7 separate regions of the Homo sapiens genome follow, and regions 1, 3, 4, 5, 6 and 7 are each linked to region 2. The links are contacts of gene promoters, found by promoter capture Hi-C in blood cells and fetal thymus (Javierre and others, 2016). All regions are on one chromosome and are shown on one strand. Each heading gives the region's core, a stretch centred on a gene start or on the middle of the fragment in contact. The rest is flanking DNA. Distances are from core to core; before and after follow the strand shown. Region 1 overlaps COL9A1 (collagen type IX alpha 1 chain). Region 2 holds the start of B3GAT2 (beta-1,3-glucuronyltransferase 2). Region 3 overlaps LOC105377848 (a long non-coding RNA gene). Region 4 holds the start of LINC01610 (long intergenic non-protein coding RNA 1610). Region 5 holds the start of FAM135A (family with sequence similarity 135 member A). Region 6 overlaps COL9A1 (collagen type IX alpha 1 chain). Region 7 overlaps COL19A1 (collagen type XIX alpha 1 chain).

What was found. Contacts are between HindIII fragments. The CHiCAGO score rates a contact against its expected background, and 5 or more counts as called.
Region 1: a fragment that was not itself captured here is called in contact with the fragment with the promoter of B3GAT2 in region 2 in 4 of 17 cell types (erythroblasts, activated CD4 T cells, non-activated CD4 T cells and 1 more); the score reaches 6.3 in erythroblasts.
Region 3: a fragment that was not itself captured here is called in contact with the fragment with the promoter of B3GAT2 in region 2 in 2 of 17 cell types (M2 macrophages and non-activated CD4 T cells); the score reaches 5.9 in M2 macrophages.
Region 4: a fragment that was not itself captured here is called in contact with the fragment with the promoter of B3GAT2 in region 2 in 4 of 17 cell types (total CD4 T cells, activated CD4 T cells, M1 macrophages and 1 more); the score reaches 5.9 in total CD4 T cells.
Region 5: the fragment with the promoter of FAM135A here is called in contact with the fragment with the promoter of B3GAT2 in region 2 in 5 of 17 cell types (fetal thymus, activated CD4 T cells, total CD8 T cells and 2 more); the score reaches 7.4 in fetal thymus.
Region 6: a fragment that was not itself captured here is called in contact with the fragment with the promoter of B3GAT2 in region 2 in 5 of 17 cell types (erythroblasts, M2 macrophages, naive CD4 T cells and 2 more); the score reaches 6.4 in erythroblasts.
Region 7: a contact is called between a fragment that was not itself captured here and the fragment with the promoter of B3GAT2 in region 2, in 2 of 17 cell types (naive CD4 T cells and fetal thymus). The highest score is 6.1, in naive CD4 T cells.

The regions. Positions count from the first base shown.
Region 1 is chr6:70,227,997-70,231,093 of GRCh38, forward strand. The region is part of intron 36 of COL9A1 (collagen type IX alpha 1 chain); the gene reads right to left. Among named protein-coding and RNA genes, the nearest start is that of COL9A1, 74 kb to the right of the region's middle. The HindIII fragment of the contact is 464 bases long and covers 1,381-1,844 here.
Region 2 is chr6:70,955,738-70,959,166 of GRCh38, forward strand. B3GAT2 (beta-1,3-glucuronyltransferase 2) reads right to left here and starts at 1,323. Exons shown (of 4, transcript NM_080742.3): 1 at 102-1,323. The coding sequence starts at 692. LOC124901229 reads left to right here and starts at 691. Exons shown (of 2, transcript XM_047419611.1): 1 at 691-791; 2 at 895-3,180. The coding sequence starts at 691. The coding sequence ends at 1,621. RefSeq lists silencers at 1-54, 525-654 and an enhancer at 583-1,098. The HindIII fragment of the contact is 6,068 bases long and covers 1-3,429 here.
Region 3 is chr6:70,355,104-70,358,223 of GRCh38, forward strand. All of the region lies in intron 1 of LOC105377848 (a long non-coding RNA gene), which reads right to left. Among named protein-coding and RNA genes, the nearest start is that of LINC01610, 38 kb to the right of the region's middle. The HindIII fragment of the contact is 2,803 bases long and covers 36-2,838 here.
Region 4 is chr6:70,392,122-70,395,208 of GRCh38, forward strand. It overlaps LINC01610 (long intergenic non-protein coding RNA 1610), which reads left to right and starts at 2,081. Exons shown (of 4, transcript NR_125857.1): 1 at 2,081-2,151; 2 at 2,564-2,922. LOC105377847 (a long non-coding RNA gene) reads right to left here. Exons shown (of 5, transcript XR_942668.1): 2 at 2,898-3,087. The HindIII fragment of the contact is 3,343 bases long and covers 47-3,087 here.
Region 5 is chr6:70,411,447-70,414,942 of GRCh38, forward strand. FAM135A (family with sequence similarity 135 member A) reads left to right here and starts at 2,062. Exons shown (of 22, transcript NM_001162529.3): 1 at 2,062-2,256. FAM135A-AS1 (FAM135A antisense RNA 1) reads right to left here and starts at 2,512. Exons shown (of 2, transcript NR_147708.1): 1 at 2,391-2,512; 2 at 1,382-1,616. RefSeq lists silencers at 1,869-2,088, 2,429-2,578. The HindIII fragment of the contact is 2,225 bases long and covers 1,092-3,316 here.
Region 6 is chr6:70,285,536-70,288,547 of GRCh38, forward strand. The region is part of intron 5 of COL9A1 (collagen type IX alpha 1 chain); the gene reads right to left. Among named protein-coding and RNA genes, the nearest start is that of COL9A1, 16 kb to the right of the region's middle. The HindIII fragment of the contact is 688 bases long and covers 1,156-1,843 here.
Region 7 is chr6:70,209,821-70,213,010 of GRCh38, forward strand. COL19A1 (collagen type XIX alpha 1 chain) reads left to right here. Exons shown (of 51, transcript NM_001858.6): 51 at 1-2,648. Among named protein-coding and RNA genes, the nearest start is that of COL9A1, 92 kb to the right of the region's middle. The HindIII fragment of the contact is 543 bases long and covers 1,509-2,051 here.

The DNA.
Region 1 (3,097 bases), core at 363-2,862, 730 kb before region 2:
AGTGGGAAGGAGAAAGGAAATTAGGCAGATGGGAGACAGGGATAGGAGAGAAACTTCACTAAATATCTTTTTTATACATTGTTAATTTTTGGAACTGTATAAATTTAGTATTATGAAATATAAATTAATCAATCTTAAAAACATAAAGTGTGTTGTTACAGTGTCTACATTTCACTACTGACTCATTGTTTATAGGGAACATACTTTGGATTGCAACCAACCATGTGGATTTGCAAGACATTTACAAGACAGTTGATTGAAATTGGGGATTTAGCAGCCACAGAACAAAGTTGCATTAATTATCCCAGCCCCTGAAGATACCAAACCCAGCAACTTGACCTCATTAACAAAAGGCATTAATTCCTTAGTTAACTGGTCCTAAATGATGTCTGCTGCTCTTTGTTGAAGGCATTATCCCATTATTCCGGTAGTACAGTAGTATATCATTATTCTACTATGCTGTTAGAAAATGCAATGGCACCTTGCAATAAATTCTATACATACCATTTTTTTTCCAAACATTTGTTTCAGCTTAGCCTCATTCAATATTAAGTCATATTTGTTATAATTTTAAAAACAAAGTCATGTACACAACAAAAACAGAAAAAATATCTGTATAACCATCTGCACTCAGATAGTCAAAGATCTCTAATTCTGAAGTGAATATTTAGTCACCATACTTTGATTTTAGTTGTGAATGTCTTCATGTGAATGTTTTTATGATAAACTACATTTCATCACATTTCAAAACAATTTAAATTTATATAAATACTATGACGGATTGAACTCAGGTTGAACTCATATTTACATAAGCTAGTTTTTTTAACATTCATCATCAATATGGCCTTACTATATTAGGAAGATACGACAATTAACATCTTATAAACTAATGGCATAAGCATTCTTGTTAACTTGGTAATTTAAGTGTCATATCACTATAATTCTGGAGGCTGGCAATGAGAACAGACTGTCTAAATGTGCCACATTTCTGAAGATATGAGATGAAGATTATAAATTAAAGTGTGGCTTTTACACTGATAGTAAAAGCTAAACTTGTTTGTACATTCTAGCATGAAGCCACACCAACTTTTAATGTTGCTTCGAGGACTAAGACCAGTGTCTTTGTTGTGATACTGTCTTTTGGTTATCAGTCAGAGAAAAACAAGTTTTAAGATGAGCTCCAAAACAGAGCCTATTCTGCAAACTGCTACTCCACAGCAAACCATGTATACAGGTTGGTTCTATCGACAAGGTTAATCTATTACTTCAAACCCTGATCATGTCTTATTTTGAGATGTACAAAAACCAGCTTAGGGAACTAAAGGTCCAGCTTTGTTAGCCTCCTCAGTCAAAAAATATGCATAAAGAGCTTGTAAAATAAGCTTTAGGTAAGGTATAAAGAAAAATACACAGCTTCAGCAGAAAAACAGCTCATTATGAACGAGTGGAAATTCTCATTGCTCTATAGTTGCTATTTATTTCATTTATTCATGAGCTATAATTGATGCTCTATCTCCATGTAAACAGATTATCACTGAGAAAGGTGTTAGTCATAATTATGACATGTGTGTTTTCTCAAACCTTCATTTACATATTGCAGTGTCTGTTTGATTCACACTAAAATATCTAAAAATATACAGCCTTACTCAAAGGGACTTAAAATTAATCCAAACTGTGAATATTTAAAACTAATATTTATGACACAAAAGACCAATGTAATACCAAGCAAAGTGAATATAAGGCCAGTTAGATATCTCTCAGGTTTTAAGCCTGGGCCCTAACATTTTGTATAATATTGTGTAAAGCATGTCAGTGAAAAACAGAAAAATTATAGATATAACCTAAGCTTTGACTATGATTTGAGGCATATTTCTACTAGTTCCTATTGAAAATGTTCTACTGTGTTCTTCAGAGTATTTTCTAGGAGAAAAACAGTGACTAAGACATAGGCTGAACTGTTCAAGCATTCATAATAAAACTTGTTTGTTATTTATGCAGCAGTTTCTCTGGAAAAAGGCTCTCAAAGTGACCATATGGTAGAGCAAGATTCATACCATCCCTTCTTTACCAGGGATGGGGAAAAAAGCCAGCAAGCAATACTGAAATATATCTCTCCTCTAATTGACTGAAAATTTAAGTTTCAAATTGGTGGAATGTTTATGCTCAGGGAAATTTCAGCTGTAACCCCTTGGATATTACAAAGCTATATGTTTTCTAATAAATACTCCTGTTAATGTATGTGGTGGGACAAGAAGAATCAAATCCAGCTACCTAAAATCATACATTTCCAAAAGTATGACAGTGTTAATTGATTTTAAAAATTTAATTACCGCTCCCTACCTCCACCCCAAATTCTCAGAAGTTAAACTAAGAGAAGATACAGCTTTAAAGGAATCTGATAACGAGAAAGGGATGGAGGAGGGTAGGGAGAAAAAAAATCCTTTGGAAAAGGGAAAAGAATTGTATCACTTCATGTTATAGATTATGTCATGAATACTGAAGAAAAATTAAGAGGAAATACCTCACATGATCAAGCTATACTTGACAAACGAACTTAGTGCTAGAGCCATTTCCCAGGTTCCAAATATAGAAATTTACTTTTGTTTCTTTCAAACTGAGGTTCATCTGCTAGAGCCAACCCAACCCAGCCTAGCCACAATTCACTGTTGCTAAAGCTTCCCCAAACTATTCACCATTGTTTCCAGTGGTTCTCAACCCTGGCTGCACATTAAAATCACCTGGAGAATATTTTAAAATCCCAATGCCCAAGCCAATAAAATCAGAATCTCTGAGAATGGGATCCAGATATCAGTGGTTTTAAGCTCCTCAGGCAATTCCAGTGTGCAGGCAAGGCTGACAAAGGCAGCTTTAGACTGTCCTAGCTTAGCTTTCATTTTTTAAAGAAGAGTTCTGTTACTAGCTCAAACAAAGTTAAGCTCTGCCCCAAGGAGACTTCCTGTTAACCAAAGAAAATAGGGCTGTGATGTCTATAGGCCCTATAAGTCATTCCCTTTCAGTAGGAAAATGGGCGATTGCTCCACACCAGGTGCAGCAGAACCACCAGGAGGGCCTGTTAAACTAGACAGCTAGACCTCGA
Region 2 (3,429 bases), core at 73-2,572:
CAAAAGTGCACCCGGAGTGCAAGGGGCGTGTGACTGCAGCCCGGCCGGCCCGGAGGCCCACTCCCGCCCTCGCCCACCCAGCGGGGCAGGCTGGCCTTTACCTCCTGGAAGAGCTCCAGACTATAGGTGTTGTCGTCGTCAGCGAAGAAGAGCACGCCGGGCTGCGCGCGCTGGTGCTGGTGCCTCTGGCGCAGCCAGGCGAGGCCCGCGTTGCGCTGCTCAGTGGCGCGCGGCAGCCCGGGCCGCTTGTAGCGCCGCGGCGTGGGCACGTGCAGGTGAGTGCTGGGCAGCCCGGCCCGCGCCAGGAAGCGGCTCACCAGCTCGCTGCGCGCCGCCGCGTCCTCCACCAGGATCCAGTGCAGCTGCGCCACCTGGCGGAACGTGTTGGCCAGGCGGGTCAGCTCCGCTTTCTGCACCGGGCGGCTGTAGGTGGGCGTGATGGCATAGATGGTGGGCAGCTGCGGCTCCGGCTGTGGCTGCGGCCGAGACTGGTTGCGCTTTTGGGTCCCGTGAGCCGGGCCGCCCCTGCGGAGCGGGAGTCGGGCGCCCCCGCGGCCCACCGCGTAGGGAGAGAAGTAGGGGCGCGGGGTGAGCGGGGGCACTGGCCTGCGCGTGTCCACGTCGAGCATGATGATGACAATTAGGATCCAGGGCAGGAGGATAAAGAAGCGGGTGAAAAGCGCGGACTTCATGGTGCACGCTCCCTGGCCTCTCGGACACCCCAGAGAGGGGCGAGCCGAGGGACCCCAGTGCGCAGCTTGGACAGCGGCGGCGCCAGCACTTAGGGAGTGGTGATGGGTGCGCTGTCCATGGGGCCGAGGGCGCTGCAGAGACCTGGAGCCGCGGGGCTCACTACCTGGGCGTGGAGGAGCGGCAGGTTCGCGCAAGCTAGAGCGACAAGGGGTGCAGGCGGGCGGGCAGGGGCTGCCCCCGACTCCAGGTGAGCTGGCGGGAAGCGGGACTCGGTCCAGCCGCGCGCCGCCGGTCCCGGAGTTGTGCCGAGTGCGGGAAAGGCGCTGATCCCCACCGCGCTCTTTCTGAAGAGTGGAAGCCGAGAAGCGGCACCCGGTGCGCCTCGCCGCTCCAGTCCGGCGGTGCTGCGGGCACAAGGGCTCCAGCCGCGGGCCCCCAGGACGCTCTCTGGGACGCCTTCGAGGGCGGGCGGCGGCGCTGGGGGCTTTCCTTCCTCACATTCCCGCCGGGGTGGCGAGGAGCGGGTGGAGACGCTGGGGGTTGTGTCCCGGCTGTGTTCGCGCGCCGCAGCGGAAGCCTGCTCTCAGTCCCTTGCTCTTGTCTTCTCAGAACCTCTCCGGATCCAGCAGCAAGATCCCAAAGCAAGGAAAGAAAGAAAAAGCGAGGGGGCGGGGGCGCTGCAGAATCCAGCGTCCTCCCAAGTCCTCCTGTGGGAAGACAGCAGCGCTGCTACTGGTGGAGAGGGGCTGCGAGAGGGAGGCGCGGAGGGACCCCTTGGCTCTCCGCCGGGTCTGGCGCTAACGGCCCCGCGAGCAAGCTCGGGAGGCGGCCGCTGCACCGCGGGTGGAGGAGCGGGAGGAGCGTCCCCGCGGGGCTGCACGACCTCCTGGAGGGGGTGATGCTCGTTCACCTCTCTTCAGCTTTGTGAAATACCGCAAGGTCTTTGGAGATGAGCCAGGAAAATCCATTCACGTGCGGAAATTTGCCGGGCTACGCGCGTTGCTGCTGATGCCTAGGGTTCGGAGTGAAAGGAGGGGAGAAAGCGAAGGGATTCCTCCTCCTGCTCCCAGCTGCTGCGTTGATGTGCTGGGGTGTATCGAACAGCGGCAACAAAAAGCGCTTTCACTGCAAGGCAGACATCAATAGGAGCCCACGGAGATGGAGGGGTGCTGCACATAGGTGTTTGGCATGTGAGACAGTCCATAAGAAAGAATCAATTCGGAGGGCTGCTGCCTGACTGCAGTTTGATCATGGCGGGTGGGGGCGGGTGGAATTCCTAAAACTCCAGCCGAGCATGTTTAACTTATTTTTCTTCAGTAATTTGGAGTCACGGTCCCTCCCAGTTCTTCGCTGTCACCGGAATTACTCCGTTTGGCTCTCCCAAGGCTCCTGTCAAGAAGGCCTAAGAAGTAGAATGGCCTTCATTTTCAGGATAAGGAAGCTGAGGTTCAGGGTTTAAAATGATTTCTCTGAGGTCAGTGGCAAGTGGCATATGGAAATAGAACGTGGGTCTCCTGCGTGTGTCTATAGCTAGTGGCGTCCTCACTGCATGGCCTGCAGAAATCCCACCCAACACAGCCGGGCCGGTTTGGCCTTCCTACATATAAAGATGGTGCGATTGAAATCAAACAGAGTGTACCATGACGAATAGAACCATGATAGGGTCTGGAAGACCCCAAGTAAACAGTTGGCACTTAGTTTAGACACTTTTTGCTGTCTAGCTGGCCTACTAGCTGAGTGCCTGACCTTCTGTAACTTACCAGGAAGAAGGGCTGTGCTTCCCAGGCAGGTCCCAGGGAAGTGCTTGCAAAGCAGAAGGAAAGCTCCAGACTGTTCTGCCCTAGCCTATGATAAATAATTTCTGAGCCCATCTTGTCTGGGTTGTCTGCCTTTCTCGGGCTTGTTCACAAATAAATCTCTCTCCGACTGTGCGTTCTGGTGCAACTGAGAGCTCTGGGGCGAATGGCTCTCCAGCTTTTCTGACAGCTCCTCTTCTCCCAGTCCTACCCCTGAACCCCCCACCTGTTAAAAGGCATTGGCTCATCTGTGAATTTCCCTAACTTCCTCTTCAGATTCTGAAACGTGAGAGTGAAATTTCAGACTAACACCCAGCCACCCCAACAACTCCCTAGAGCTAGCCTTCTGTCCCAACTTCCCTGTGCCATCCACAACTCATACATTAAACTCTGCAGATTAGTGCATCCTAAACATAGAAAACAACGAAGCCATTAGACCTCTTCCCATTCTCTCGAATAGCCTAATGTGCCTCTGAATATAACACAACCTTGGAAATGTATTCTGCACCAGCATCATGCCAGGATGGGGAAGAGGAAAGAAGTCAAGGCCTCCCTTTAAGAAAAGGTTTTTCTTAGGAAGCAGTGCACCCCTCTCCCCTAAGTTACTGAAGTCTGGTTCATCCTGTTGGAAATTTTAAATTTGGTTAAAATGCCTTGTGTTTGCTGGAATAAAATTCATGTTGTTACTGAATTGTACTAAAAACATCACTAACCTTTGTTAGTGGGGAACTTTTGGTTGGTCCAACTATGCCATAAAACCTATTTGCTATTACATCCTCTCCAGGAACCAGGGCTATTCAGAGATGAAACACTGTGTGTGTGTGTGTGTGTGTGTGTGTGTGTGTGTGTCTGTGTGTGTGAGAGAGAGAGAGAGAGAGAAAGACAGACAGACAGGGTCTCTCTTCAATGCCAAGGCTGGGGTGCAGTGACTTGAACACAG
Region 3 (3,120 bases), core at 187-2,686, 600 kb before region 2:
GAAGGAAGGAGAATCCTTGTTATATAGAAGCAGAAAGCTTATATATATTGTGTTCTGCAGTTATGCTGAAGGCAGACTTTGTAAGTGACAAATCTGGTCATTTAGCTGAGGAAATTTTCAAGCATCATGGTGAAGGTATGACCTGTTTTTTCTTGCAGCTTATAGTGAAATGAAAGATGAGAGAGAGAAATTGAGGGTGGACCTATTAAAAAGAAACCAATACTTGGTGATTTTATAAATTCTACACCTATTTAAATGGAAACAGACTAAAATTAAGAGATTCACTGTCAGGAAGTCATGTTATAAAAAAAGAGCCCAGGATGTGTCTGTAAAACCTTTTGGTAATACCTCAGAAAACTCAAAAGGTTGTAATATTTAGTTACACAAAAGACTACTTGAAGAGATCAAAAGTGTGACAGATCAATCTCCTTGGCCATCTCAACAGAAGCCATAAATAAAGATGGTATTATCTAGGAAAGATCTGTGTACAAGGTGAATCCCATGACATACATGGGAGACTCACAAAGTTCCTAAGAATATTAAGACAACAGAAATTCTGCCAGCTAGGACTGAAAGAGATAGAGAGTACAAAATTTTCAAAAACTGTCAGTCCATAAAAATTCTACCTGCAGAAAACAGACTGCTATGGTCTGAACATATGTGTCCCTTCAAAATTTATGTTAAAATCCTAATCCCCAAGGCAATAGTGTTAGGAGGTGGGACCTTTGTGGAGGGGGTTGGGTAATGAAGGCAGAGCCTTAATGAACGGGGTTAGTGTCCATATAAACGAGACCTCAGAGCCTGCCTTGCCCTTCCACCATGTGAGGATACAGCAAAAAGATGTCGTCCATAAGCAATAGCCCCTCACCAGACACTAAACCTGTGTATTGATCTTGGACTTCCCAGCCTCCAGAACTATAAGAAATAGATTTCTATTGTTTGTAAGTCACCCAGGATATGGTCTTTTTATTACAGCATCTGAATGGACTAAGACACAGACTGATAAAACTACCCTGTTGCGAACATGTGTTGCCTTTCCTAAACAAAAAAAGTGTGACTCACAGGGAAGAATCAAGAACCACAGAACATTTTTTTCTCCAGGCCTTGAAATCCAATGGAGTTTGCCCGGCTGGGTTTTTTAATTGCTTAGAACCAGTGATTCCTTTTATTCTCCCATCTTTCTCCCTTTTTGAATGTGAATATCTGTAAGTGTTATCCTGTGCCTATCCCACTGTTGTATGTTTGGAGCAGATAACTTTTTTTTTTTTTTTTTTTTAGTTTTACAGGTCCAAAGATTGAGAGGAACTGTGCTTCAGGGAAGATTATACCCAGATTCTACCTACATATAATTTAAATTATTTGGGTGATTAGATTTGGGGTTTTAGAGCTCATGGAATTTAGACGAGATTTTGAACTTAAATTGATGCTGTAATGGGATGAGAACTTTGGTGATTTTGGGATGAAATAAATGTATTTTGTGTATGAAATAGACATGAATCTTTAAGGGCCATAAGGTGGACTGTGGTAAGCAGAATAATTACCACCACCACCACCCTCTCCAAAGACTTCCATATCCTAATTTCCAGAAAAACAGTTAGTTTAGATTGTAAAAGGGAAGGGACTTTGCCAATGTGATTACAGTTATGGACATTAAAATAGGGATATAAGGCCGGGCGTGGTGGCTCATGCTTGTAATACCAGCACTTTGGGAGGCCAAGGTGGGCGGATCACCTGAGATCAGGAGTTTGAGACCAGCCTGGCCAACATGGTGAAACCCCATCTCTAGTAAAAATACAAAAAAAAAAAAAAAACTGGGCATGGTGGCAGGTGCCCGTAATCCCAGCTATTGGGAGGCTGAGGCAGGAGAATCTCTTGAACTGGGGAAGCAGAAGTTGCAGTGAGCTGAGATTGTACCATTGGAGTTTTGCTCTTGTCACTGAGGTTGGAGTGCAATGGTGCAAATGGTGCAATGGTGGTACCCAGAGCAGAAAAGCCAGCTGAGCCTACCAGACCTCTGACCTATATAATAGTGAAATACATTTAGTTATTTTAAATTGTTGCGTTTGTGACAATTTGTTACGGCAGCAATAAGCATCTAATACATATTCACATCCAGAGATTAAAATCATTTAAAGGAGTTGATCCTCACTGTCTAATAGTATAATAATAATAATCCCATACTTTCATGTAAATTATAATCAAAAGATCATTTTAAATGGCTTTGTCTTTCACAGAAGGAATTTCAAAAATTTATTTTGTGCTTATGCTGAAAGCTGGCATTCCCTCTATTATTTGCTGCTCCTTTTTAGAATAATCAATTCACAAATTTAAGATTTAAAATGTGCTTCTCCAAGATTGGCCAAATCACAAGACAGCAGTACTCTTATGAGTTTCTCCCTTGAGTCATAAGTGGTGAGTTCGTGTCCCAGAAGATCAAAATGGCGTACTGAAAAAGAGCTCTTGGCTAAATCAAAAGGCCTGAATTCTAGTCCTAACTCTGACATGAAAGAGCAAGGATGCCTCTTTGGAGGAAATTAATTAACCTCTATGGATCTCATTTTCTTCCTTTTTAGAATAAAGCAGTTGGAGATTCAGGGTGGCTTCCATGATGAAGTATTGTTTGTTTGAAATCTGAAGTCTTGGTAGCATTAATGAGACAATTAGGTGGAGAAGCAGTCCAGAAGACTCAGCAAACCCTGTTTTATATGCCACTTGCTACAACATTAGTCTCCCGATGAATTTAGTGACCAAAAACAGAGCAAAAATAAAGATCTATAAATAGGCCTAGAAGAATGTATGCCACTTGGCAGTGTTAACCTCTGAGGAGGGCTATAGGGAAGCTTTATGGAGTAGTGCTCAAGGGCATAGACTTTGTTACCAAACCTTCTAAATTTAAGTTTTGGCTCTGCCACTTCCCAGCTGTGTGTTTTCTCTACATCTCTCAGTTTCCTCATCTATAAAATGTATGTGTGCATGCACAATTGCTTAAGACAGATCTTGGCATAATATGCGCTCTATAAATTAGCATATACTATGTAAATATTTGTCAATGTTATTGCTACTGGCAGAATTGTGTCCCCCAAAACTTCATATGCTGAAGCCATTAATGTGATGTTATTT
Region 4 (3,087 bases), core at 468-2,967, 560 kb before region 2:
TCTTTAACTTTCCCTACATCCTGTCTTCCTTCCCGGTTGGAAAGCAAGCTTTCTGAGTTCACTACCATTGACTGAAGGGACATCCTTTCTATACTACGGTAGAACTCTGTGTTCTAGGTCATCCAGGCTCAGCCCTGGGTATGTTAAGTAGGAAAGATTAAGGAATTTATAAAATTCTCTCTCAAAACTTGTATACATTTATTTTTTAATTTCAGAAACTATCACTTGTCTTTACCTTTAATTCTTTCTGAAACATCCATTTCCCTGGTAGAGGTTAGACAGTAAAGAAAAAATACATAGGAGAAAAAAGGAAACAAAAGGCAAATGAAGAACACAAAATTTCAGGACCTATTCATAGAAAAATAGGCCAATTTCAAACAAACAGTTCTCCCAAGACTCAAAGAAACTAAAGGCAAGTTGGCTTTCCTTAAAAAAAAAAAAATTATCCTGAAAGAATAACAAGAGATCGATCAAAAGAGAGATGAAGCAAGAACAGGAGATAAACAGTGGGTGTGTGGAGCTCAGAGATGAATAGAAGCATAAGATGAAATTATTACAGAGGTGAAATTCTCATTAGAGTCAACAAATGGTAACACATATATATGGATAAAAATACAGTCTAGGACAAAAAGAAAGCCCTTGAGTAAATAACATAAAACGAATTGGAAAAGAACAGAGATAAAATAAGAAAGGAGGTGGTATGGACATTAAACAAATAATCACTTTCATGGAAGAAAATAATATATGGAATGGGAAAAATTCAAATATATAATTGAATATAATTTTCTTGAAACAAAATCTCAAATCTATAGATTACAAAGACATAGCTTAGCCAAATTCCTGAAAATGTTGATGAAGGCTAATTAGTAAGATAACTTAAAAATGGATTTAGAGCAGCAGGTTGTAAGAAGTTACACAGCAGAAAAGAAGCACATGAACCAACTCTACCAAAATGAGAAAGAATAGGAGGAAATGAACTGAAGAGGTATTTAAGATCCTGGCATTTAGTAAGCCGACCATGGTATGGTTGTTAAGAGGCCAGCGCTGTAAACTGCCTAGATTTGGATCCCATCCCTGCCGTTTATTACCTGTGTGACCAAAGCAAGTTATTTTGCCTCTTGGTGCCTCAATTTTCTTAATTTTAAAATGGAGGTGATATTAGCCACCCACATAACACAGTGACTGTGAAAATTGAGAAAATACATTTAGTCTTCTTTAAAAAATGCCTTTCATATTCAGCATTGTCAATTATTATTAAGTTCAACAGAGCTTGGTGATTCTCTGAAGGTGAGAGAGTAAGAGACAGGGAAGACACGAGTTGATTCCTAGGTTTCAGGATGTGACAATCATAATGCCATTCACTATAGAGAGAATACAGAACAAGGGTAATACAGAAGAAATGATTTTTTTTAATTCTCAATTGATATAGTCCCCACCCAAACCTCATCTTGAACTGTAGTTCCTGTAATTCCTATGTGTCGTGGGAAGGACCAGGTGGAGATAATTGAATCATGAGGATGATTTCCCCTATCCTACTCTCGTGATAGTGAATTAGTTCTCACGAGATCTAGTGGTTTCATAAGGGGCTCTCCACCAACGCTCTGCACTTCTCCTTGCTGCCACCATGTGAAGAAGGACATGTTTGCTTCCCCTTCTGCCATGATCGTAAGTTTCCTGAGGCCTCCCAGCTATGCTGAACTGTGAGTCAATTAAACCTCTTTCCATTATAAATTATCCAGTCTTGGGTATGTCTTTATTAGCGGTGTGAGAACAGACTAATACATCAATTATAATGGATTCATTTTGAACATGTTAAGATTGACTTATCTTTGAGAAGATAGGTAGAGAGGTCCTGTGGGCACCTAGAACTCACCTAGGGCTGAAGGCAGGTGTACATGGCTTTAATGTGTGTGCAGAAGCCATGAATGTGGATAAGATCTCCTTTGTGATGTACATAATGAAAGAAGAAAAAGGGCGAGAACTGAACCTGTGGAATATTCCCATTTATCAGCTGGCAGAAGACTAAGGCCTGTGACAAAGGATCAGTGGAAAAATAAAGAAGAAGGAGAGGATAAATGATGAATCAAAGGCACAAGGACAGGCTGGGCACAGTGGCTCATGCCTGTAATCTCAGCACTTTGGGAGCCCAAGGTGAGTGGATCACTTGAGCTCAGGAGTTCAAGACCAGCTTGGGCAAAATGGGAAGACCCCATGGTGGGAGGGATATATACATATATGTATATACATAAATAGTTGTGTGTATATATACACACACATATACAGTTGTATATACGTATATATATATATAGTTGTGTATATATACACACACACACATATATATATAACAAGTACATTGGAGAGGCTGTGTTCAGGAGCACAGATGAACAGGTTGGCCTTTGCCAAGGGAAGCACATATTTTCCACCGAGAAAGAGAACGATGAGGGTGTGCGTGGAAGCAGGTTAAGTGTGTAGACTGTAGTTGGTAAAGCTGAAAGAGCTCTTACTGAAAGATTCTCCCCGGGGCCTGAAAGTTTAAGGGAATGAATAACTCCGCCCTCCTCAGGCCCAGTCCCAAGGTGCAAGGCCACTTGTGCTAGCAGCATGCGTCAGCAAGATAGCAGAAGCAGGAAGAGAGCTGGCCGGAAGATATGTACCCTGTGAAGACCGAGAGAGAGGCCGTCCAGGTACCACGTAGCAGTTACATCAGACTGAGACACTTCCTGTTTACAGGAGACTATAAAACCCCTGCCCCATCCTCATTTGGTGCTGATGCCATTTTCAGCCTCAGCACGCCTGCACCCAGGCGCTCATTAAAACAGCATGTTGCTCCCCACTGCCTCGTGTTGTCTGTTGGCGCGCTGTCGGGGTTCGAACCGATACAAGAACCTTCCACCTACCTGGTGCTTTGGCCTCATCTATAAGGTAAAAGCAAAGCCATCTGTTGCTAAATATTGGAAACTCTGTGTAGCAGTGAAGATTAGAAGTAGTTAATGATTGGAGGATGACCCCTCTCAAAAAAAAAAAAAAGTTACATTGAGGGCCCCGCAGACATTGAATGAAAAATATGAACTCAAGTCAAAAAATTGT
Region 5 (3,496 bases), core at 812-3,311, 540 kb before region 2:
TCCCTAAACAGTGGCATAGAAGTCTTAGTTTTAGTTCAGCACAAAGACCAGTTTCTTACTGTACAGCTTCTGTTCAAGCAATCCTTTTCCCTTTACTCCTCCCAACCGCCACCACAAGACATCCCACTTCAACTCTCTGGAATCATTTTCTCCTGGAAGTTTTTCCTGACCCATGACCTCTTCCCAAAGTTGGATTAATGCTTCTTCTGAGCTTCAATAGCTCTCTGTGCATTTATCTCTGCACTATACACATTACATCATAGGGTAATAATGCAAACACTCCACCCAAGTTCTTTTTCATTCATGTTGGTATCTTCCAAGATTAGCACACTGCCTGGCACACAGCAGATGAGTTAACAATGTGATTTGAATAAAAAGAACGTGGAACAGGGAAAGAATCTTGGCACACTGTGTGTTTTAGGGATGCACGGACGTGGAAATGCAAATAATTGGTTGTTTACTATATTTTCCTAAGACATGGCTGGAACTAAAAAAAAAACAGAAAAAGCCTTTCCAATTTTGAGGCTAAAGTTCAAGTCACAAAACAAGCAATAAAAGCCTGTTTAGCAAGGATAGTAAAATGGTATAGGGCTATAAAAGAAGGGACAAATTAGAAATCAGGAAAGCAGGCCATTCATACAAATGCAAATAAATTGGTTCACAGGATAAGAGGACACCCAATCATGTAAAAACTGGTACAAGCCAGGCACGGTGTCTTAGGCCTGTAATCCCAGCACTTTGGAAGGCCAAGGCGGGTGGATCACCTAAGGTCAGGAGTTCGAAACCAGCCTGACCAATATGGTGAGACCACGTCTCTACTAACAATACAAAAAGTAGTCAGGCGTGGTGGTGTGCGCCTGTAGTCCCAGCTACTAGGGAGGCTGAGACAGGAGAATTGCTTGAACTCCGGAGGCAGAGGTTGCAGTGAGCCGAGATCACATTACTGCACTCCCGCCTGGGCGACGGAGCAATGCTCTGTCTCACACACACACTCGAAAAAAAAAAAAACTGGTACAAAGATATATTCAAAACCTGTCCCCTAAATGGCCTACGTTACAAGACCTCACCATTACTTTCAAATGAATGCACAAAGCTTTTCCCTTCTAATTCATTCTTATTGTGGTAAAATATACATAACAGAAAATTTACCATTTTAACCATTTTTAAGTGCACAGTTCAGTAGCATTATGTCCATTCATTGTTGTGCAACCAACACCACTATCCATCCTAGATTCATTTTTAAAACAAGAGTCGCAGCTGAAATTTTCCTTTCATTAACTCAGCTTTAGCAACATACTGAACTTTATGCACCACAAAAGTTTTTGCCAGATAAGGTTCAGAAACAGGGAAGAGTGAAATAAATCAATGATCCTTCGTGGGCTTCTGTTAACGGAATGTATTAGCGAAAGGCTTCACTTCATCAGCCCCCTCCCGCCCTTTTTGGCGTCATAAACCAAGAAACAACCAGATCAGCACCCACATCTCCCAAGATGCAAACACTGGGTCCCGAAAGGCATCTGTCCTGCCCCGGCGCAGATCCCCTGCAGCCTCCTTTCCTACTGCACAAATCGACTAGCGCAGGGACCGGGCTCTCTACCCGGGACTGCACGGAGGAGCTAAAGAGAGAAAAGGAGAAACAACATTGTGAGAAAAACGGCTAAAGTTCTCGAACTCCGTGTTTTTGCCCTCTTCTTGTTCACTACTCTTCAACCACCTCCAAGTTCCATCCCTTAAACCCACAAGCGAGCCCCTTTTCTTGACGCGCGCCTTTTATTGACGCAAACCTCCCGTTCTCGCGGGAACTTGGGAACGGGAGCCTGGTAGGGAGGACAAATCTCTCGAAATCTCAGTTGGCGCTGGAGCTGGAGGGGCAGTTGAAGCTCCTGAAGGGCGGGGCACGGAGCTTGAAGGGGCGGGGCCTAGCCTCAGAGAGGGGAGGGAAGAGGCGGGAGGAGGAGGTGAGAGAGGCCGGGGGCGGGGCCGTGCGGCCGGGGACCTGTTGATCGCAGGTATAGCCGGCTGGCCCGGGCTCCCTCGGGACTGGGGCGACTGCGCATGCTCGCTGGCCGCGCTGGGCCAGTAGCCGAGCCGCGGTGACGAACCGGCTCCGCGGTTGCGGTGTTTGCGGTTGCTGTGATGGCGATGTGAGGGGGCCCGGGGCGGGATGGTGCTGACCCGGGTCGGGCCGTCTTCTTGCAGCTGGACAACGAGCTCCTCCGTTCGACAGGCGGGGGAAGAGGCCGAGCCGGGCGAGAGGTAACCCCCTTACTGTCCCCTCTGGCTCCCCCGGCTCCCGACACCCACGACCCCTCCCTCCGTCCCTCTTGCCCAGGGGCCAGGAAGGAAGCGGCCTCCTCTTCGTCCGCCGTTCGCCCGCCGCGGCCCCTCACCCGACTGCTGGCGGTCGGAGCCTGGCCCCGGCCCCGTTGAAGGTCGGTGGGGACGGCGGTGCGGAGCGCTCTGAGGGAGGCGAGGGGCCGCGGCGCGCTGCTCTCCCGGTGCCCGCGGCCGCCCCTGCCCCTGCGCGCGTCCCTCGACCCGTTCTTCCTGAACCTCGCGCCTAGCGTGTTTGCCCTTCACCCCTGCTCCATCTTCGTCGCTCTGTCCCTCCTTTACCCGCTTTCGTGGTTCTGCTTTTTCATCCCGCGCCTCCCACGTGTCTTTTTGCCCGGGTGGTCCCTCCTTGGGAAGCAGCGTATCTCTGTGCTTCCATCCCTTGCCTGGCTCTTCCCTGTCCGGAGCTCCTTACCCTGGCCGACCAGGTTTCTCACTCTTGTTACCTCCATAATTTCTTCCTTGGTTTTATTTTCCTCTCATCCACCTCCTTTCGGTACTTCCTCCTGGTTCCCTTTTTGTTAGTTGCCGATTGTGTTTTGCTTTAGCATCGCTTTGCATTGGAGTTCATTCCATGCCCCATCTTAGCTTCGGAAACCCTCACTGCCTTCTCTTTCCTCTGGTACCCTGCTTCATCGCTTTCTGTCTAATGGCCCCTATCCTCACGTCCTTTTCCATTCTGCACCCAGTGAGTCTCTAATCTTAATTTTTTCCCCTCCAAAACTCTTCCACCCTCCCCCCCCCATTTGTATAAGTCAAGCCTCTTAACTTCATTCCATTTGTTTTACTTTTTATTAAATCTCTGAAGACTTCTTTGTGACATACCCTTCTAGTCCTTGCTGCTTTCTGCCTAAGCTAGGTATCCACTCAATGTTTCTAGTTCATCTTCCAGTTTAATAACATTTCTTCTTTCTTTACCGGTTGGTGGAAGTATCATCAAAAGAGTGACAGTAGCAACAAATCGGTTACACTTACTGATTAAAGCTTTAATTTTTAAGAATTATGTTTACCTGGCATGCCTGGGAAAGCAACTTGAGTACAGACTAAATGAAACTATAATGGGTTAAGACTTGTTAAAGGTTGACCTACAAACATACACTTAAAATTTGGAAATTTTCTTGTCCTCCATTAGGTGTAGCTGTCCAAGAACTAATCTTAAATG
Region 6 (3,012 bases), core at 250-2,749, 670 kb before region 2:
GTCCTTTTGGCTGGTGTGAGTACAGTGATGTTTACAACTAATTTAGTCCTTTAGTCAACATTTGTGATGTCCCAATAGAAGCCAAACACTAAGGAAACATTCTGGTGAAACCAAAGATATTCCCCTCTCCACACTGGGTTTATAATTTGCAAGACAAGAAAAATACAAGTAAATAAATAAATAAGTTTGTTTTAAATCTACTAAACAGAATATAAAATGCCCTAGCAAAAGCCATCCTTCTCAACATAAAATATTTCTCCATTGTCTCAAGGAGAAATGAGTAGTGTGTGAATGTAAGGTTCCTCACATCTGCCCAGATTTAGGATTATTCAATTATTTTCTTTTCTTTCTTTCTTTCTTTTTTATTTTTTTTAGATGAAGTCTCGCTCTGTTGCCAGGCTGGAGTGCAGTAGCACAATCTTGGCTCACTGCAGCCTCCACCTCCTGGGTTCAGGCGATTCTCCTGCCTCAGCCTCCCGAGTAGCTGGGACAACAGGCGCCCACCACCACACCCAGCTAATTTTTGTATATTTAGTAGAGACGGGATTTCACCATGTTGGCCAGGATGGTCTCGATCTCTTGACATCTTGATCCGCCTGCCTCGGCCTCCCAAAGTTCTGGGATTATAAGGTGTGAGCCACCGAATCTGGCCTATTCAATTATTTTCTATAGGACAATGTAAAGGTATAATTCAATCCTCAAGGTTACAGTAATGCCCAGCTGACAATACATTTAAGCAAGGAATTTTGGCCCCAACTCTCTATTCTTTTACCAAGGTTAACGATTTCTACTTATTTTGCCAGGTTGTTAAGAAAGATTAATAAGGTATTTAAGTCCTTCATAAGAACTAAACAAAAACTAACTGCAGACAACTATCTTTTCCTCCTGAGAGAGAATGTTAATGGCTATGAAACTTGGCTCAGTGTTAATGAGATTGGCACAAGGTTTGATTTCTGCAAACTGAATTATGATTAAATTTTACAACTATAAAACACCAAAAAACTAGCTCTTTAATAGGACAGATGTTTCATTAAGCTTTTGTCTTCAGTGACAACAAAGATTTAAAAGAATACTTGAATCCTCAGATCTCATCTTTCCTTTCAGTTTATGACCAAATGTTAGTTTATACCATCATGAAAGACCTCCTCCAAGTGAAGCTTCCTGATTACTGAGCAGGAGGCTCTGAGCTGCCTCAAAATTAGAAAATTTCCTAATTCTATGTAGACTAAACCCGGCTGTTCCAGACATAGTGCTAGGGATGTAGGCAGCACTCATATTTAACGCAATACTGTACCAAAGGCTACAGCAGAATGGTGAAAGGAGAAAGCAGTAAACTTGGAGTTAGTAGACCGGAGACATGCTCATTTATTTATTCAACGTATTTTCATATAACACATTCATGTGCTTTGGGATAGACACCATGAAAGACACAAAAATGTCTACCATATAAGGCAGTATCTAAGCAGAAAATGATTTGATGATAAATACTATAGCAGTGGAGATGACAGAAATATTTTTCTGGCTCAGGTCATCAATGAAGGGATCATATAACACGCGCATATATGTGCATGCACATATATGGGTGGGGCCCTGAAGCCCCACTTCTGTTATTATAAGCAGAGACACGGAGGGTAAAGATTAGGGTTTACATAGAGGGGTTACAACAACAAGTCCCAAGGGTAGGAAGTGGTATATAGAGAAGAGACCAAATTTGCTGGGGCAGAGTAGACATCCGATTTTTTTTTCACCTTGACTTCAGGGCTAAGGAATTTAAATATTATTTGGTATATTATTATTAAATTGTCATTGAAAGACTTTTTTTGCAAAAGATAAGGATGGGGAAAGCTTCCTTGATTTAGAGGGCATTTTGAGGAAATTCATTTGGTCATAAATGCCTAATCCTTTGAGGCAGAAGGAGGCTACCGCAGTAAAGCAACAAGAAGTGTTACACTCTGAACTATGATGAGGCATCCTAAGTTATCTGTCAGATAAAAAGAAAAATCCTCCCCACATTTTACATACCACTTCAGCTGCCATCCTCTGTTCCTCTTTACACAAAATTCAAAAAAGATGTCTACAACTACTGTCTCCAATTCTTCTCCTCATTTTCTCTTGAACCCATTCCAGTTGGGCTTTCACTCCCAACACTCCAATGGGTCTTTTCTCAAGATCACTCTCTTTGATTTCTAAATCCAATGGTCAACTACTTGACTTATCTACAGCATATGAGTCAGTTTCTTATTCTATCCTTTTTGAAATACTATTTTCCCTTGACTTTCAGGGCACCACAATCTCCTGGTCCTCTCCTATATTACAGATCCCTCCTTCTTAATCTCTTTTGACAAATGTTCCTCATCTCAGCAATCTCTAAGTGTTTTCATTTAGAGATATTTCAGGACTCAGTTCTTGGACTTCTATATTACACTTGTCTCTTGGTGATTTCCTGACTTTAAATACCATATGTATGTTGACAATTCCCAGAGTTCTATTCCCAGATGGACCTATCTGTTGAACTCCGAAAGCATATATCTGCCTATTTACCAACTTCATCTAGATGTCTAGTAACGATCAAACTAACTCCAAAACCCAAACTAACTCCTGATACTCTCCCTGACACCTGCTCTTCCCACAGCGTTTCTCATGTCAGTAAATGGCACGTCTATACTTCCAATTACTCGCGCCTAAAGTAATGGTGTCATCTTTGATTCCTCTTTTTCTCTCATACTCCAAATCCTGTTTTCCTTACCTCAAAATATATTAGGTTTGGATCACTTTGCATCACCTCCACCACTACCACCCTGGTCTAAACCAAGGCTGTCTCTGCCTGAATTATTGCAGTAGCTCTTAAGTAGCCCTTGCTCCTACACTCTTATGTCCTTCTCTCCCTTCTCCTACAATATATTATCAAAATAGCAGCCAAGGAGATCCTTTTGAAAGATGAGAACATGTTGCTTATCTGTTCAAAACCACCTGGTAGCCACCCATCTCACACAGTGTGAAAGCCAAAGTACT
Region 7 (3,190 bases), core at 530-3,029, 750 kb before region 2:
ACACATGATATGCAACAAAGGGCAGCAAGAAATGCTGGGTCCACCTAATTTAACACAAAATGAAGTTGAGATTCGGCAGTTGCCCAATTCCTTTAATAAAAAGAAACTAAATAATTTGGGCCCCAAAGTAGGGTGGGAAGTTTTCCTCTAAATGACTTGATGGTTGCCAAATCCCTTGCACCATTTTATTCCATTCCAAAACATGTGTTTATTTCCACATAGATGTTAATGATGTTCAAAGCAGGGGAGAAGAATTATTCAATTTCATGAATAACTCTTGTTTGCACTCCAGAAAACAACATACATGTTTAAATACAAAATAATTATGGGCCATGACGACGATTAATATTAAAACTGTGATTTCCATATACAAGTATGTTTGAGTTCCAATCTTACATTTTATACCAAGTTCAAAACACTTTCAGATAGAAGTCTTTCTATGCAAAGATTAAAGTATGACTTCAATTCATATTTATGGCCTTTGGAATCCAAAGAAAAACAGAAGAATAATTCATGGATTTGTTCATTGTTCTTTCCAACTGAAGGCAGTAACCATTACTTCTAACCGTAACACAAACACAGCAAGTTTTAACCTTTTAAACTTTTCACTTTGTGAGCAAAGTAACCCCATAAGTTTATTTCCCTATTTCATGGTATTGTTTAAACTTTAAAATTTTAGTCACTTAAAGAACTTAAGCAATTATATTAAAATACGTTGTCTGTGAAAATTATCATTTGATATTTGGCTTATAAAGTAATTTTTATGAATCTGTTTTATGAGTTAGGTAAGATTTAGCCTTTCTGCAGTCTGTCTCATCTGTTGGGAACCTGTGATATACCTCCATTTGTCCACAAGATGGTGTTTAAAACAATTTGTTCAGAAGAACTGAGCAAACTAACAGAAATACAAGGCTACGAACAGTTTAGTGGACAACTAAATCAGACTCTTGCCTTTGCACTTTTTTTTAACTTTTGTAGATAATTTTTGTTAATTTGTTTTGTTAATTTATGTTTTTCCTAATTTTAAGCATCTTTATGAAACAGGCACAGTACCCTTTGGTTTGTTGACTGTTTTGATTTTATTTCTTTGGTGGATATATATGTACTTATACACTTAGTTAACATGCAGATTAACTAGTCATAACTGTTTATACACCACTCTCATATTTTAGTGATCAATATGAAGACAGCTAAATAATTATCCTACTTTTTAGACAGGACAGATACTCTCAACAGACAAGAAAAAAGATTTAGCTTATCACAAGAAGCAGACAATTTATAAAACTACACAATGTCTAAACTCTATGTTGCTCAGTGTACTTAAAATTTTACAGTTATATTTGTATAACGTTTATATTTTTCTAGAATACATCACTATTTACAAAAGTACAATTAGAAACACTGTTTTTTTTAAGTACCGTTTTTATTTTCATAACACTAATAATACACTGGGATTGAGAATTTCTGTTAAGTGTTTTGCTGACGTTGTTTTAATGAATACTCAAAAAAGCTTTGCAGATTTGTCCATTGCTCTTGTTCTTAAATTATTTTTCATACTTGTCTGTATCCACCTTCTGAAGACACACAAGTGTTTACTGTCGCAGTTTCCCAGCGTTATTTCTTAATACTTGAGTGTTGACACATTTTTGTACCATCCCCCTTTTGTACCATCTCTGCTCACAAAGATTATATGCAGGCTTTGAAGAGGAGGAGATGCAGAAGATAATTGAATTTGTATCTTGTATGCCTATGTAATTCAAAGTGACTTAGTCCATTGAATTGTGTTCATTTATTAGTTGGCTGGTTAAGATAGCATTAATTATCTTAAATTTATTCAACTACTAAAAGTCTCAGGCAATAGGACAGATGAGTGTCATCATTTTTATTGTGTGGCATACTTGGAGCTATAATCCAAACGTTTTACTCAACAAAATAATGCTAGAGTAACTGATCAATTTGGTTAAATTGAATGAAGAACCAAGTGAACACAGAGAAAACTTATTCGGACAAGTAGACCCAGCACAGCAAAAATTTGTCTGAAAGATAAGACAAGCTTATAAGACCAAAGCTAAGTCTAAGAAAATCTAAATGGAAAAAAAATTGCGTGTTCAGATCCAATAGTGAGTGATGTGGTACAACTGGAGGAGTTAGCTACTTGCTTCATGAATTTGTCAAAAGTGAATACTAATAAAGTGGGAGGCTTCACTAAATGAGGGGGTAAATAAGATTTAAGTTTATCAGAAGTGTGTGTATTGTGTGACCATACTAAGCTTCTGGGTGTAAGTAAAGATGCTGGCTATTTTACAACTTTTTATTGTATTGTGTTATGCAAAGTACATTTTGGAGATAAATGTTTTTCAGCACATTAATGTCTTTAAATTCAGGTTGTATTGGGTGTATTTTACAACTATTTATTTTTAAATAACATTTAGGGTGTGTTTTCCCCCATTTTGTTTGTTCTCTATCTTACCTCATCAAACTCTTTACGATTTAATTGAATATACTCATGTTAAGTGCAATGGCATTAGTTTTATTCAAAATCCCACATGGGCATAATGCTTTGAGGCCTTGATTCCTACATGTTCATTATGCATAATGAGCTTGTCACCTATCTCAGCAATAAAGGTTCTGACCCTATGTCAGGGAAATCTAAGGTGCAATTATTAAGGCCATATCTACTCTTCATCACTTGCCATGGCTGAAGCTCCACACTTCAGTCCATTTTGTTTGGTGTCAACCATGGGGATGCTCCAGAAGCACTCTTGGCTAACCATGAGCCCCACAGGTGTCCAAGGAACGTTAATTGGTCTATTGCAGGGTTCATGTTTGTACCATCATTATAGTTTTCTTTGTCACATGAATCATTGCTCAGCTTGAAATAATCAAGTTTGTCACCCATCTCCCTGGCAGTTCATAAAAAGCCTAGTCTAATTATTTCAGATGAGAATTATAAGCAGAATCAAAAGCCCAAAAGCAGGCAGTCCTTTGGGACTTTTGTCCCCCAGAGTGATCATCTCACTAAAATCATTTGAGACTTTTTGCTATAGAGGTCCCTGAGGGAGATAAGAAATAACACAATTAACTTTTCTCATCCATAGAAGCTTTTACACCATGAGTGATAAGGTAATAGGCAATAAGTAGTTAAATACATAGCAGGTTTTCTTAACAGAAATTAATTGCATCAAAACGT